2 separate regions of the Homo sapiens genome follow, and region 2 is linked to region 1. The links are contacts of gene promoters, found by promoter capture Hi-C in blood cells and fetal thymus (Javierre and others, 2016). All regions are on one chromosome and are shown on one strand. Each heading gives the region's core, a stretch centred on a gene start or on the middle of the fragment in contact. The rest is flanking DNA. Distances are from core to core; before and after follow the strand shown.

Region 1 (7,784 bases), core at 2,145-4,644:
CTGGCTGTTGGCCATGATTTACCATTCACCGCAAAATGAGACTGTTTCTGCTTCTCAAAGTCCACTGTTTTTCCCAAGCAGACATGGACCATACTGACACAAAGCCAATTAAGATGAGACTTAAAAAATAAGAAAGAGGTCTAGATGTGTAACTCAGAAGACAGGGCAAGGACATAGAATCAATTCTGTTCTAAAGTATTATTAAAACAAAAACTTTGTATAACCAAACTAGCTCCCACATCCTAGCAACAGCTCGCTTTCTTCAAACAAAACAAAATATAGCAAAATCTAATTATAAAAACCCCTTGTCTTTGTGATGGTGGGTTTTAACTGGTAATTAATCCCAATTTGTACAACTGATGTGGACGAGCTTTCCTTTTACAAACCAAGAATTTTATAATAGTATCATCTATCTCAATCACTGTTTAATAAAGACAGTCCTCCTTAATTCTTTTTACATGAAATGTTAATGTGGAACAATGATGCTTTTCATCTGTCTGGAAGAAATTCCTCATGAAATCAACAATGTAAAAGTTTTAGAAGGAAAAAATGTCATACATCTTAAAACAGAAGTCATATTAGTTGTATTTAAATGGTTGTATCTTTGTTCCAACTTTTAATCTTCCTTTTCTCAAGGTACATTCAAACTATAAATTTTCTTGAATAACTGAGTCAAAAAGAAAGGAGACTTGAAAACTAGGTACCAAAATAGGGTGAGGACTCTGCTGGTAAATCAGATAGTCTTGTAATATTTCCTTCTTTGGACGTGTTAGAAAACAATTGCTAAAAGGAACATAAATTTCTTTTTGAGAGTATGGCTAAGATTGTGAAATACATTCCTGAGATTTCCAAATTTTGTACTGGGAAACTTTTTGTTAGACTATCAAGCCTATTAAGGGACTCACAAATTGGAGTCATACGGGACATCTCTGCGGTTTTTTAATAGCTTCCAATTTACCAGTTGAGGATTCTAAGAATCATCAGTGAAGACAACGTAGTGAAACAGGGATTTGTTATATCATGGGATTCTCTCTAAAACCTTTAATTTATGGAATTCTTTCTGGGGTGGTAGAGGCGGAGAAGAGGAGGATTAGAGAAAGTTAAGATTCTTGGTTGAAAATATAACTTTTAAAAGTAAAGTGGGGGATAAACGAGGAAAATTACACCATATGTCAAGGGCATTATTTATCATAATCCACATTTTCAAACTCTAAGGAAATTGTTTATAAACAACGTCTGGATTTTTCCTTTGCAAGCATATACAATTTTTAAGTTTGAACTTCTTCCCTCAGAATTACTCCTTGTCTCAAAAAGTTTCAAAAATGTCTTTGATTTTTCTCCCCCTATTAAACAGACTTTATTTTTAAAGCATTTTTTAGCTTCACAGCAAAATTGAGCAGAAAATTCGAAGTTCCCATGTACCTCCCCCATGCCTTCCTGTCTCCAGCAGCCTCCCGGACTACCAACAACCCGTATCAGTGCAGTACATTTGTTACAAGTGATGAAACACATTGACACATCATTATCCCCAACATACATAGTTTACATTAGGGTTTACTCTTGGTGTTCTACATTCTATGGATTTTGATTAATGTATAATTACATGTATCAGCCATTTTATAGTATCATACAGAATAGTGTCATTACCCTAAAAATCCTGTGCTTCACCTGTTCATCCTCGGCAGCCCAAAATATGTTTACTTTTGCAAAGTTGTCTTCAAATAAATACTTAAAAGCAAGGACAAGACCCCCCAAGTTTTAGACAAGTACTAAATTAAGTAGCTCTTACCTACTTGAAAACTAAATGAGAGTAGTATTCATCAACAGAAAGCTAAGCGGGCAAAATGCTTTCCCCGCTTTTCCCCCATGACAAGCAAGATTAACCAAAAATATTACAGTTATTTAAAAGAAAAAAAGAAAGAAACCAAATGGGAAGAGAATAGAATGCAATCACGCTACCATTAACAATTTATGTTTTTCTGTTCTTGGATACCTTTTTGAGTGCCTGAGAATTTTAGTCGCAAGGAATGAAAAAAACTGTTTTCTCATTTCGAGTTTTTATTGGTCAATAGCTTCCTAACCGAAAACTCTGCAGTCCTAACACAATATTTTGTATCCATTTTCAAAAATCCAGTTCTGGGCATAAAATAGAATTAATGCTCAAGTCAAAAACTTTGTGTTTAGAAGATAAAATATTAGGAACCATGAGTATGAGAAAAACAAAAACTGTTTTCTGTATTTTTCCCTTCCTCTCTCTGCAAAACTTCTCTATTTGATAAGGGACAGCTAGCTTAAATTTACCACAAAGTAAAACATGAGCAAATCCCCTGGAACGAGGAGAACTTTCGCACAGGGCAATTCACTCGAATGTGACATCAGCATTCCTTCTGAGTCATAGTCTGGTCCCCACCCTTTTCTCCCAGGCGACACCAGGCTCCGCATAACCCGGGAGTGGCTCAGGTAGGGCCGTCGGTTCCAGTGCCTGCGAGGCAGCAGCCAAGCTGAAAATGTCTCCCTGCGCTGAGACGCTGGTGACAACCGCCCTTTGGGACTACCTGCCAAACAAGGAGAATGCGCTCTTTGACAGATAATTCCCTAAGAGGGAGGCACTGCCTCGGTCGGTAGACAAGTAATGAATGACCGAAAAAAAAATCACATTAGAAGTTATCACCAGCACGGGTGCGAAGGCAGTGCATTAAATCAACACTCATTTTAGAGCGCCCCAGACAGCCCAGCCGGAAGGGAGGAGATCAGAGCTGTCAAAGCACAGCAGAGCCCCAAACCACAAAGGCTTAATGAAATTCAACTTCCTGAGCCAGGAAGTGTCACGGTCTCGCCCGCACTCGCCCTAAGCTCGTCCTTTCCTTTTGAGGAGGCACAGGCAGAGCTGAAACATCTTAAGTAAAGTTTCCAACACCTACAACCACTGGGATTCCGTGAGACTGGAGAGAAGAGTCCCGCGCCCGCCCTCGCTCGCGCTTCCAATTCTGTCGCTCCCGAGTGTGGGGAGCTGGCGGGGCCGCCGAGCACCTCCTCTACCCAGGGGGCCAGGTCCCTGGGCCCGGGGCACCGCAGACCCAGAGCCGGGCTCACACCGGGGGGCCCGCGAGCCCCACCCACCTCGGCACCTCCGGCCGCCGCGCGCCGCGCGACCCGCGCAGGTGAAGCAGCCGCCGCCCGCCACGAGCGCCCCCCTACCTTCTTCACTTTGTTTTCCAGGTCCATGTTAACGCGTCCTATGGGTCCCCTCCTCCTCCTATCCGGGATCCCACGGCCGGGTTCAGCTGGCCTCCGGCTCCGCTGCGAACACGGGAAACCTGCGGAACTCCCGCGGCGCCGCTCAACAGCCACTCGCCCGGCGCCGTCGAACTTCCGCCGCCCAGTCCGCCGCAGCGGGCCTGCGGCCCGGACCCGGGAACAAAGGGGGCCGGGCAGCCAATGGCAGCCGGGCAGCTCCGGGCCGCCGCCAATCACCGAGCGCCGCACGCACCTTCGCGGCCCGAGCGCGGCGCTGGCAAGGTGAGAGGCGGGGCGGCGTCCGAGGCGGCGCCCTGCTGGGCAAGCTCAGTGACCCTGACCTGGTCTCCGAAGGGATTCTCTGGGCGTCCACGGGCCGGCTTCTAAAGAGCTGGGATCCCCAGCCTCCCTCTAGCTGAAGATGGAGAAGAACTTTTTCCATTTGGCAATTTGTACCTGTGTTTGCCCAGGACTTTTTATTTGGGTCAAGGGGAATAGTTATCCCAATACTAACTTCTCAGTTTATTTTCAGGGTAAAGAGAGAAAAAAAAGAGAGAGAGAGAGATTGTAGGGATCGTTAGGGATTCCTGTGATGGACCTTGGGCACTAAATTCAATATTGCGTTGTGGAGATGCCCTTTCCTCAATTGCTTTTTTCCACAATCCCAAATACTGTCAAGAAACCGTATCTTACATCCCTAAAGTCAGCGAAGATTCTTAGATTGTTTTCTGAGCATTGGGTTGTTCAAAAGTAAAGATGATGTGAATCACTTCAGAAACAGGTTGTGTCATTCCTTTGGAAGCAGAGGGTTGCCCTTTGTCTCTGTGTGAGATGGTGCTAGGCCTATCGCGTGCTCAGGCTTTGATGAAGCAGAGTCATCACATTGGTGCACCAAAGCTGAATTCATTTCATGCCCTAATTCAGGAGCAATTGCATCTAATACCATCAGATTGGTCGGTCTGGAAGGGAGCCTAACGATTACTTAGTCTAGCTTCCTCACTTTGCAGGGAACTGAGGACTCCAGAGGTGCAGGGACCTGCCTAATGTCTTAGCCTGTTGGGGACAGAGGCATTGCTCATGAATCTAAACAACTTCTCAAAGATGTTTGGGGCTGGAAGCACAGCATGTTGACTAAGGAAAAAGAGCAGTCAATTTTCTTCAATTTGTGGTTATGGCAAAAAATAACATTGCCCAGACAGCAGGTGACCTAATTTGGCACCTACTTTTAAAAATAACAAAACAATATAAAACAAACAAACAAAAATTCCCTAATAATGCAGATATTCAGGTCCAGATGTATGTCTGCCTTGCCTCGAGAAATTTGGTAGCTAAAAATATCCAAAATTCATTTTAGCCAATACTTGCAACTCTGCTTACTTGATTATTTGTTAACACAGAGCATTGATTTATAATGTGCATGTTTCCTTTATCCTATTAAGAATTAAAACTGAAATTACCAAAATGAGTTATGCATTTTTCTTTTCAGCTGATGTAAAACTTTTCTGTGTCATTTTCCCAAACCACCTTGAAAGGTGTGGGCCCCTGCAAAGTCTGCCCGTTGTAAGTGTATAGGATCATGAGGTCTAGCTATGACAAGGCAATTTTGTTTCTTTCAGAGAGCTTAACAGATGGAAAATGTCCAGTAAAGCAATTTAAATAAGGCATCAAACAAATGTTGTAACATAAATTTTGGACCCTTATTTGATGAGGTTGCAGAGATGACACTAAGAAAACCATCTGGAAACTTTTTTTTTTTAACTGTCAACTTCTGCCTTTCTCCCATTCTTCCTTCCCAACCCTCTCAGCATTACATTGTGTGTGTGTATCATTGGCAAGGATGGAAATAGAAATTCAGTGAGTTTTATCTGGAATTATCACTGTGCCAATTATATAAAAATAATTATAGATTATGTATAAATTATAAAAATAAAATTGAGGTAGATAAGTGTTAAGAGAGTTAAATTGTAAGTTTTTGTTCAGTTATTCAGGTGTTAAGCTACAGTTATTAAGGAGGTAGAACTGGCATGGTTTGATGAGTACATGTAGTTGATGACAGTGGAATGAATAGAAGATGGCACACATTTCTATCTTGATCACCTCTATGGATAGCTCAGAAAGAGAGAAAATATAGGATGATGGTCAGGGTTTTGTTCAGTTGTGCATTCTTTGGGGCTGGTGGTGGACATAAAGGATACAACTTTTAATATATTGAGTTTGAGACTGAGACATTGAAATGAGTATCCAAATATACATCTTGAATGCTGATTTAGGAGTTCACATCCTACATAAATAAATAATTAAAGGCCAAGAAGTGAGATGAGCCTCGGAGACAGTAAAATAAAAGAGAAGAATATCAAAGACACCAAGTGAGCAAGGCTGAGCAAGAGAAACACATAAAAGAGATAAGGGCTAGATTAAGGGTAAGAAAAAAATTAGGAGTCAAATCCCTAAAAGCAAGAAAGGAAATTGAAGAAGAAATTAGTTAACAATGTCAAATTGTAGAAAAGGGTCAAATGCCCTTCGGATTTAACAAAAAGGAGATCATTGGTGACTTTGGAAAGTGCATTTTTGGTGCAGTTGTGGGGAAAGATATTACTTTATAATTTTATCTCCCTTTGTTTCTACCAGAGTGCTTTAGTCAATGTTGGACTTGACTTTTCCACAAAACTTATGGACACATCAGCCAAATAAATGCCCAACTCTGCTGTTTCAATCAAGTAGAGAGGAAATCAATATACTATACTGGATAATACTAAGGAATGGTCTTAAGATCTTTATCTTTAGAGAAGTAAATGAAAATACTAGATTTTACACATGTGTGCAGGCACACACAGAGAGAGAGAGACAGACAGAGACAGAGACAGAGGAGAGAGAGAGAGAGAGACTGAAGTTCTCTGTATAGGCCAAACAAAATATTTATTCAGGTTAAATTCAGTTTCTATGCTATCAAATTACAATATCCGATGAGGGAAATGTGTTAAACTTTTATGTACCCTTCATCACTGGAGAGATGTAAAAATACATAAGACATTCCCTTTGTTCTTAAGCAGTTTACAGATTAGTATGGGAGTAGCAGGTGTGTAAGAGTAATGAAATGTTACAGGTAGAGGGAAGCACACGTGAGAGTCAGGGAGAAGGTGGTATTGGGATTTGTAAAATCTTTAGAAAAGAGTAACCTTGGCTTAGTCTTGGAAGATGAATAAGTGTCTTAGTTAAAACTCTTGATTGCAAGTTATATTAGGCCGTTCTTGCACTACTATAAAGAAATACCTGAGACTGGGTAATTTATAAAGAAAAGAGGTTTAATTAGCTCACAGTTCTACAGGCTGTACAGGAAGCATACCTTCTGCATTGGCTTCTGGGGAGGCCTCAGGAAGCTTACAATCATGGCAGAAGGCAAAGTGGGAGAAAGCACTTCACATGGTAAAAGCAGGAGCAAGAGAGACAGAATGTGTTGGTGGGGGAGGATGAGGTGTGCCACACAATTTTAAATGACCAGCTCCCCTGTGAACTCAGAGAGAATGCTCATTTATTGCCAAAGGGATGGCCCAAGCCACTCATGATCCAAACACCTCCCATTGGGCCCTACCTCCAGCATTACGGATTACAATTCAACATGAGATTTGGGTGGGGACAAATATACAAACCATATCACAAGTAATAGTAACCCTCGAGCTAGTTTACTTTTAAAAAGATGGCATTTTATTTTAAGGATACAGAGGCTTGTTGCAAAACTCAAGGGCCAGATGCATCTGCGACTAGACCAGGCACTTGCCAACATCTGGAACAAGGAATCTACTCCTTCACTGGGGTTATGTGGTCTCTCATCTTGCTGCTTGGCCTCCATCAGCTTTAGTTCTTTCTCTTTGAAGACTCTGTTTTCCTGCACACATGGGCAACCAATAAAGGCAGTCTCAGCTCGTTAATTGACATCACCCTAGTTCAAGCAAAATACCCAGTTTGGGATTTCAACCCCTCTAACAAAAAGACTTTAAATAGCCCAGCTTGGATAAGCTTAAACTTCTGATTCAATTAGCTGAAGCTGGTGCCAGTTGAGAGACACAAAGGACAACACATAGACTAAAGCCCAAACTTATAGGTAGGACAAATCTCACAGAGAGGGAGTAATAAGAGTTTTCCAAATGCCTCCAAAGATATCTATCTCTGTTTCAGATGTTACAAGGAAATTAGCAAAGGAAGAGGCTTAGTAAGTACAAGCAGAAGATTTTTCTTTCTGTCGATATTGGAGAACTTTTTCCCTTGACTTTTATTATAGGTTTGGGAGTACATCTGCAGGTTTGTTACATGATTAAATTGCATGTTGCTGGGGTTTGGTTTACAAATGATTTCATCAGCCAGGTAGTGAGCATAGTACACAACTGGTACCTTTTTGAACCTCACCCTCCTCCCACCCTCTACCCTCAAGTAGGTACCATTGTCTATTGTTCCCCTCTGTGTGTTCTGGTGTACTCAATGTTTCTGAACATTTCAAAAACTATTTAAATTACAGAAACCCCACTTGGGCAAAAAGTTGTAGATGTTTATTT
Region 2 (7,784 bases), core at 2,809-5,308, 750 kb before region 1:
TTTCATGCAAACTTTGAATTTAGGTTCTCTTTAGCCCCAACAGTAACGTGTTGTTTGTCTTATCTTTTTCAAATATCTTATTATTTTTCATCACATTTATTCTCTTGGTTAAAACTGAAAACATTCATTCAAGAATCACAGTTCCTTCAACTCTCCTTTAAAAGCTACCAGAAATTGTTACATTATTTTCTATAGATAAGCAATTAAAAAACAGTGTACAAAACATTTATAGGAATACTTTTTAAAAAAATTTTTATTATACTTTAAGTTCTGGGATACATGTGCAGAACGTGCAGGTTTGTTACATAGGTATACCTATATGCATCGTGGTGGTTTGCTGCACCCATCAACGTGTTATCTAGGTTTTAAGCCTCGCATGCATTAGGTATTTGTCCTAATGCTCTCCCTCCCCTTGCCCCCCACCCTTCCACAGGCTCCGATGTGTGATGTTCCCCTCCCTGTGTCCATAGAATTTTTTTTTTTTTTTTTTTTTGAGACGGAGTCTCACTCAGTCGCCCAGGCTGGAGTGCAGTGGTGCAATCTCAGCTCACTGCAAGCTCCGCCTCCCGGGTTCACGCCATTCTCCGGCCTCAGCCTCTGGAGTAGCTGGGACTACAGGCGCCCGCCACTACACCCAGCTAATTTTTTTGTATTTTTAGTAGAGATAGCGTTTCACCGTGTTAGCCAGGATGGTCTCAATCTCCTGACCTCATGATCTGCCCGCCTCGGCCTCCCAAAGTGCTGGGATTACAGGCGTGAGCCACCGCGCCCGGCCGTCCATGGAATATTTCTATAGCCTAAACTAAGTCTGCATATCTTTGCTCTAACTTAATTGATGTTATGTTGCCATGACTTCTGTGCTTTCCCTCTAAGAACAGAATTTGCTTGTTCAAATAATGTAAGAGAAAGAAAAAGTTTTCTCTTAGGATAATAACTTTAATTGATTAGATTTGCTATAAGATTTTTAAGATTCCATTTCAGATTTTTATTGAATGATAATGCATATACAACTTCCAGTTTGGGGAAAGAACGATTGGGCAGCAAATTTCTAATATTTCAAAATTGTAATTTAGCTTCTCATGCTTCATCTCTCAAATGTAAGGGTACAATTTAAAATACTTTCCTTAAAAAGCCTTATGAAAATGGCCAAACATTATATTTCTGCAACATAAATAAGCTAAGACAAAAATTCCTCTCTAAACCACGCCAACTCTGAGCCTGAACTGAAAAAAGTATAATTTGTTTTATTTTGCTTTAAATACAAGATACCAATGATAGAAAATAGAAATTCTGCACAAACATACACACGCTCCCCAACCCAAGCCCCAGGGAAAAGTACAAACTAGATCCCACTAGTTCTTATTATGTAACACTATACAAATCTGAATCAATTGAGTGGAGCAGGTGTAATAAATTGCAAAACACCCCAAGAGCATTATTTTATTAGCTCTATTAGGAACGTTCAATAAACAGGGTCTATCAAATAAATGAAAAAACCCAATTTGTAGGGAAGTAAATTTCATTCTCATTCCCAAGACAGAGTCCAGAAACTGGAAAAGCTTAACAAAGAGAACTGTAAGCATTCTACTATTACCTGTCACTAATAAAATAATACTTTAGAATGGTATTAACAACTGACCAAAACAAGACAAAACTCTAAATCTAGGTCACACAATAACTCCAGATATGAGCAGCTTATGTGTAAAAACTACTTCCTTATTTAAGACGATTTTATACTTCAGAGTGTTTCTGTTTGTGCTGTTTTTAAATGTTAATTTTTTTAAATAATAAAACAAATAGTCCTTCCTCACTGACCTAAGAGATGCCTTTAAAGTCCTTTAACGCTCTACAACCTTGCTCAAAATTTCTGAAAGACTGATACTTAACCACAGTCTTTTATTAGATGCGGAGGTCAACTTAAGAACCAAAGTCGCAGCACTTTGGGAGGCCGAGGCGGGCGGATCACGAAGTCAGGAGTTTGAGACCACCCTGGCCAATATGGTGAAACCCTGTCTCTACTAAAAATACAAAAATTAGCCAGGTATGGTGGCATGCACCTGTAGTCCCAGCTACTCAGGAGGCTGAGGCAGAAGAATCGCTTGAACCCAGGAGGCGGAGTTTACAGTGAGCCGAGATGGCACCACTGAACTCCAGTGCACTCCTACAGAGTGAGACTCCGTCTCCAAAAAAAAAAAAAAAAGAAAAAAAAGAACCAAAGTTAGGGTTCTCCACAGAGTATAAGTGTAACCAGTGCACTTTCAGTTAATTCAGAATGGAAAAAAATGCTTTCTCAGATAAATGTTGCCTTACTTTGCTGAGAGATTTGGTAACTGCAATTAAACAGTGATACCACAGCCACAGCAACATAAAATACTGCTACAGCTAACTAACTGGGCCTGTCAGTTCCTTATTTTAGCACAGTAGGTAGTATAGGAATGCCTGCTAGTTTTAAATGATGGGTAATGGTAACACATCAGCAACTGTCTTGCCCCACTGTAACAAGAAAAATGAGTTTCATTACAAGTTCTCTCTTCTGGAAAATCCAAAGCCCTTTACAGATATCTTTACAACAACATCTCAAATACAATAATGATGTTGAGAGATATTATTCCACATTTACAACAAACAGACAGTAGTGTGGTTTCAAACAATCCAATAACCCATTATCTTGCTTGGTGCAGTTTTAGAAAGAATATCGAGGATAAAAAAGATTCTATTATATAGTTTAATGTGTCATTTCACTGTGAGAGCCAAGCCTATAGAATATAGAATATAGCCTTCTGAGGAAAAGACCTACTATAATGCCTCAGATTTAAATAGTATTTTACAGCCTACAAAGCACTTATTCATTTTACAGTCTCATATGAAGATTGCATTCTAGTCAAGGGACCAAGTCTATCATCAAGCTGTAAGGCCAAAGTCAGTAACTATCTCAACCACACAAATATTCATAGAATGCCCAGACATCCAAATAGGAAGAGAGAAAGTCAACTACCCCTGTTTGCAGACGACATGATCCTATATCTAGAAAACCCCAGAGTCACATAATTAAAGAGCTTCTGCACAGCAAAAGAAACTATCATCAGAGTGAACAGGCAACCTACAGAATGGGAGAAAATGTTTGCAATCTACCCATCTGCCCAAGTCTAATATCCAGAATCTACAAGGAACTTAAACAAATTTACAAGAAAAAATCAAACAGCCCCATTAAAAAGTAGGCAAAGGATATGAACAGACACTTCTCAAAAGAAGACATTTATGTGGCCAACAAACATAGAAAAAAGCTCACCATCACTGATCATTACAGAAATGCAAATCAAAACCACAATGAGATACCATCTCACACCAGTCAGAATGGTGATTATTAAAACGTCAGGAAACCATAGATGCTGGTGAGGCTGTGAAGAAACAGGAACGCCTTTACACTGTTGGTGGGATGTAAATTAGTTCAACCTTTGTGGAAGACAGTGTGGCGATTCCTCAAGGATCTAGAACTAGAAATAATACCATTTAACCAAGCAATCCCATTACTAGGTATATACCCAAAGAATATAAGTCATCCTACTATAAAGACACATGTACACATATGTTTATTGCAGCACCATGTACAATAGCAAAGACATGGAACCAACCCAAATGCCCATCAATGATAGACTGGATAAAGAAAATGTGGTACACGTACACCATGGAATACTATACAGTCATAAAAAAGGAATGAGATCATCTCCTTTGCAGGGACATGGATGAAGCTGTAAGCCACCATCCTCAGCAAACTAACACAGGAACAGAAAACCAAACACTGCATGTTCTCACTCATAAGTCAGAGTTGAACAATGAGAACACATGGACACAGGGAGAGGAACACCACACACCAGGGCCAGTCAGGGGGTGGGGGGGTGAGGGGAGGGAGAACATTAGAAGAAATAGCTAATGCATGCAGGGGTTAAAACCTAGATGACGGGTTGATAGGTGCAGCAAACCACCATGGCACACGTATACCTACATAACAAACCTACACATTCTGCACTTGTATCCCAGAACTTAAAGTAAAATTAAAAAAAAAAAAGAAAGAAAACCCCATAGTCTCAGCCCAAAAGCTCCTTAAGCTAATAAACAACTTTAGCAAAGTCTCAGGATATAAAATCAATGTGCAAAAATCACTAACATTCCTATACACCAACAACAGTCAGGCCAAGAGCCAAACCAGGAATGCAGACCTATTCACAATTGCCCCCCACCACACACACACACACACACACACACACACACACACACACGTAGGAATACAGCTAACCATGGAGGTGAAGGATCACTACACGAAGAACTATAAAACACTGCTCAAAGAGATCAGAGATGACACAAGCAAATGGAAAAACATCCCATGCTCACGGATAGGAAGAATCAATATCATTAAAATGCCCATACTGCCCAAAGCAATTTACAATTTCAATGATATTCCTATTAAACTACCACTGACATTCATCACAGAATTAGAAAAAACTGTTTCAAAATTCATATGGAACCAAAAAATAGCCCAAATAGCCAAAGCAATCCTAAGCAAAAGAACAAAGCTGGAGGCATCATGCTACTCGCTACTCATCTTCAAACTACACTACAGGGCTACAGTAACCAAAACAGCATGATACTGGTACAAAAACAGACACATAGACCAATGGAACAGAACAGAGAACCCAGAAATAATGCTGCACACCTACAACTATCTGATCTTCGACAAATCTGACAAAACAAGCAATGGGAGAAGGATTGCCTATTCAATAAATGGTGCTGGGATATCTGGCTAGCCATATGCAAAAGATTGAAAGTGGACCCCTTCTTTACACCATATACAACTGAAGATGGATTAGAGACTTAAATGTAAAACCAAAAACTATAAAAACCCTGCAACACAACCTACATAATACCATTCAGGACACAGGAATGGGCAAAGATTTCATGATGAAGACACCAAAAGCAACTACAATAAAAGCAAAAATTGACAAATAAAATCTAAACTAAAGAGCCTCTGCACAGCAACAGAAACTATCAACAGAGTCAACAGAAAACCTACAGAATGGAGACAATTTTTGGAAACTTTGCATCTGACAAAGATCTAATATCCAGCATCAATAAGGAACTTAAACAAATGTACAAGTTAAGTACCTCATATTATCTGTATGAATGGAGTTCAGGGTTCTACCAATGTGGAAAAAAATTGTCTGTGAGCAATGACACAGTAGTACAAGAAAGATTTGGTTGGGAAATTTTTCAGAATAATATTGGCAGGCAAAATGAAACTTAACAGAATTGTAACTCGAAGTGATTAGAAATACTTCAGCACAATTTTATGTGTCTGCAGTGGCTCACGCCTAGAATTCCAGCACTCTGGGAGGCCGAGGGGGACAGATCACTAGAGGCCTGAAGTTTGAGACCAGTCTGGACAAGATGGCGAACTCTGTCTCTACTAAAAATACAAAACTTAGCCGGACATGATGGCATGCACCTGTAATCCCAGCTACTTGGGAGGGTGAGGCATGAGAATCACCTGAACCCAGGAGGCAGAGGTTGCAGTCAGCTGAGATCCCGTCCCTGCACTCCAGCCTGGGCAACAGAGCGAGACTCTGTCTTAAAAACAAAAAAACAAAACAAAAAAAAAAGAATCCCAGCGTATTTGGAGGGTGGTGATCTAGAAAAAGAGAGGTGGAAGTTCAGATTTGAGGGGTAAGAAAGAGCCATAGCATCAAACTTTGTAAATGAAGGTAATACACTTAGATTGTATTTTCAATGCAATGGAAGCCACTGCAGGAAGTCATACAAAATCTGGACTTGTATTCACTAAGTATTAAGAGTCCAAACTGTAAAAAACATGTATACTCATTAAGTCCATGTATTATCTTGGTGCTACACTTTGCACTCAATGAAATTCATCGTAAGACACAGAATCCCAGAGCTAGAAGGAAACTTAATGAATGTAAAGCCATTATTTTACATATACAAAAACTCAAGCTCAGAGAAAAATGCATCATTCGGATTGCTTTATTAATGGCTGAGAAAAATATCTCCAAAAATAATTAAGGGCAACTAAGATGTCTGGGATACATTCTAAACTCAAAGCTGACATTAATCAAAAAATTGTCCTTTTATATATTCATAAACTGAACCACCATGCTTTAGATGCATATGGCCCATCATAGAATATATAAGATCTTGTAACAGCCTCTGACCACAATCTAAAGCTGCAAACTTAGATGGGGCACATACTCAGTAATGCATTTGATCAATTGTATTGTTCCAATCCCAGCTCACTAAATACACCGTAACTTGGATATTCATTCATCCAGTGAATGATAAGGACCTACTTTGTACAAGGAATTAACACTGGAAGATGAAGAACTAGAATCTAGAAGAAGTAATAAAACATACATATACAAAAAAAGATGCATATATACACAAACACTGACCCACATATATCACACACATATACCATAATTCATATAAGATAAAGTAACTGCAGGCATGCCATAAACAGCAAAATAACTAGAATTAGAACTGAAGCTTTAAGATGTGACTGAATTGTTGTAATTCCTTGTAAAACTTGAACGGATAAAGAGCTGTTTCTTTTGATGAGCAAAGAAAGTGTTTTGAGATAGAATCTACTCCTGGTGAAGATGCTGTGAACATTGCTGAAATGACAACAAAGGATTTAGAATATTACATAAACTTCATTGATAAAGCCGTGGCAGGGTGATAAAATTGACTCCAATTCTGAAAGTCCTACTGTGGGTAAAATGCTATCAGACAGCATCACATGATACAGAGAAATCTTTCTCTGGAAAGGAAAACCAATCCATGTGGCAAACTTTACGGTTGTCTTATTTGAAGAAATTGCCACAGCTACCCCAACCTTTAACAACCAGCACCCTGATCAGTCAGCAGCCATAAACATCAAGGCAAGACTCTCTACCAGCAAAAAGATTATGACTTCCTGAGGCTCAGATAGCATTTTTTTTTTTAGCAATAAAGGATTTTTAAATTAAGGTATATACATTGGTCTTTTAGATATAATGCTACTGCACTCTTAATATAATACAATATAGTGTGACTATAACTTTTATATGCACTGGGAAACCAAAAATTTCATGGGACTCACTTTATTGCAGTGGCCGGGAACCAAACTTGCAATATCTCCAAGGTAAGCCTGTCTTTTCTGCAGCTGAAAGGATCAGAAGGCAGCATGCCAGCTGGTCCTTGATAGATGGGTGGGATTTACAGATAGGGAAGAACATTTTAGACAACAGGCACAACAGGGGCAAAAGACCTATGTAAACTGCAACCAGACCCTCTAGAAGGGAAATCCAATTTTATGTAAATTTTAAGTAAATTAAAATCTAAATGTTAAGTAAATTTAGAGCAAAAATTCTCAACATGAAAAAATGCCAAAACTGAGCTGCAGCCTAAGTTCTATATCACGTCAACAATATAAGAGTTTTACATCTGTATTCATGAGCTTAATTAACACAAAAAAAAGTCTTCTAAATAACTTGACCAGGCACGGTGGCTCACACCTGGAATCCCAGCACTTTGGGAGGTGGAGGCAGTAGGACTGCTTGAGCCCAGGAGTTCAAGAACACAGGGGACCCTGTCTCTACAAAAAAAAAAAAAAAAAAAAAAAATTAGCCACGCACTGTGGTGTGCACCTGTAGTCTCAGCTACTAAGACTGAGGTGGCAGGCTGAGACAGGAGGATTGCTTGAGCCTGCAGGTTGAGGCTGCAGTGAGCTGTGACTG

What was found. Contacts are between HindIII fragments. The CHiCAGO score rates a contact against its expected background, and 5 or more counts as called.
Region 2: a fragment that was not itself captured here is called in contact with the fragment with the promoter of TES in region 1 in 1 of 17 cell types (activated CD4 T cells); the score reaches 6.4 in activated CD4 T cells.

What each region holds. Positions count from the first base shown.
Region 1 is chr7:116,206,149-116,213,932 of GRCh38, reverse strand. It overlaps TES (testin LIM domain protein), which reads right to left and starts at 3,394. Exons shown (of 7, transcript NM_015641.4): 1 at 3,199-3,394. The coding sequence starts at 3,225. RefSeq lists an enhancer at 2,466-2,705 and silencers at 3,066-3,155, 3,296-3,495, 3,250-3,512, 3,546-3,675. The HindIII fragment of the contact is 9,726 bases long and covers 1-6,616 here.
Region 2 is chr7:116,958,049-116,965,832 of GRCh38, reverse strand. The region is part of intron 1 of ST7 (suppression of tumorigenicity 7); the gene reads right to left. ST7-OT4 (ST7 overlapping transcript 4) reads right to left here. Exons shown (of 5, transcript NR_002329.2): 5 at 6,016-6,680. Among named protein-coding and RNA genes, the nearest start is that of ST7-AS1, 7.6 kb to the right of the region's middle. RefSeq lists a silencer at 2,425-2,474. The HindIII fragment of the contact is 4,993 bases long and covers 1,562-6,554 here.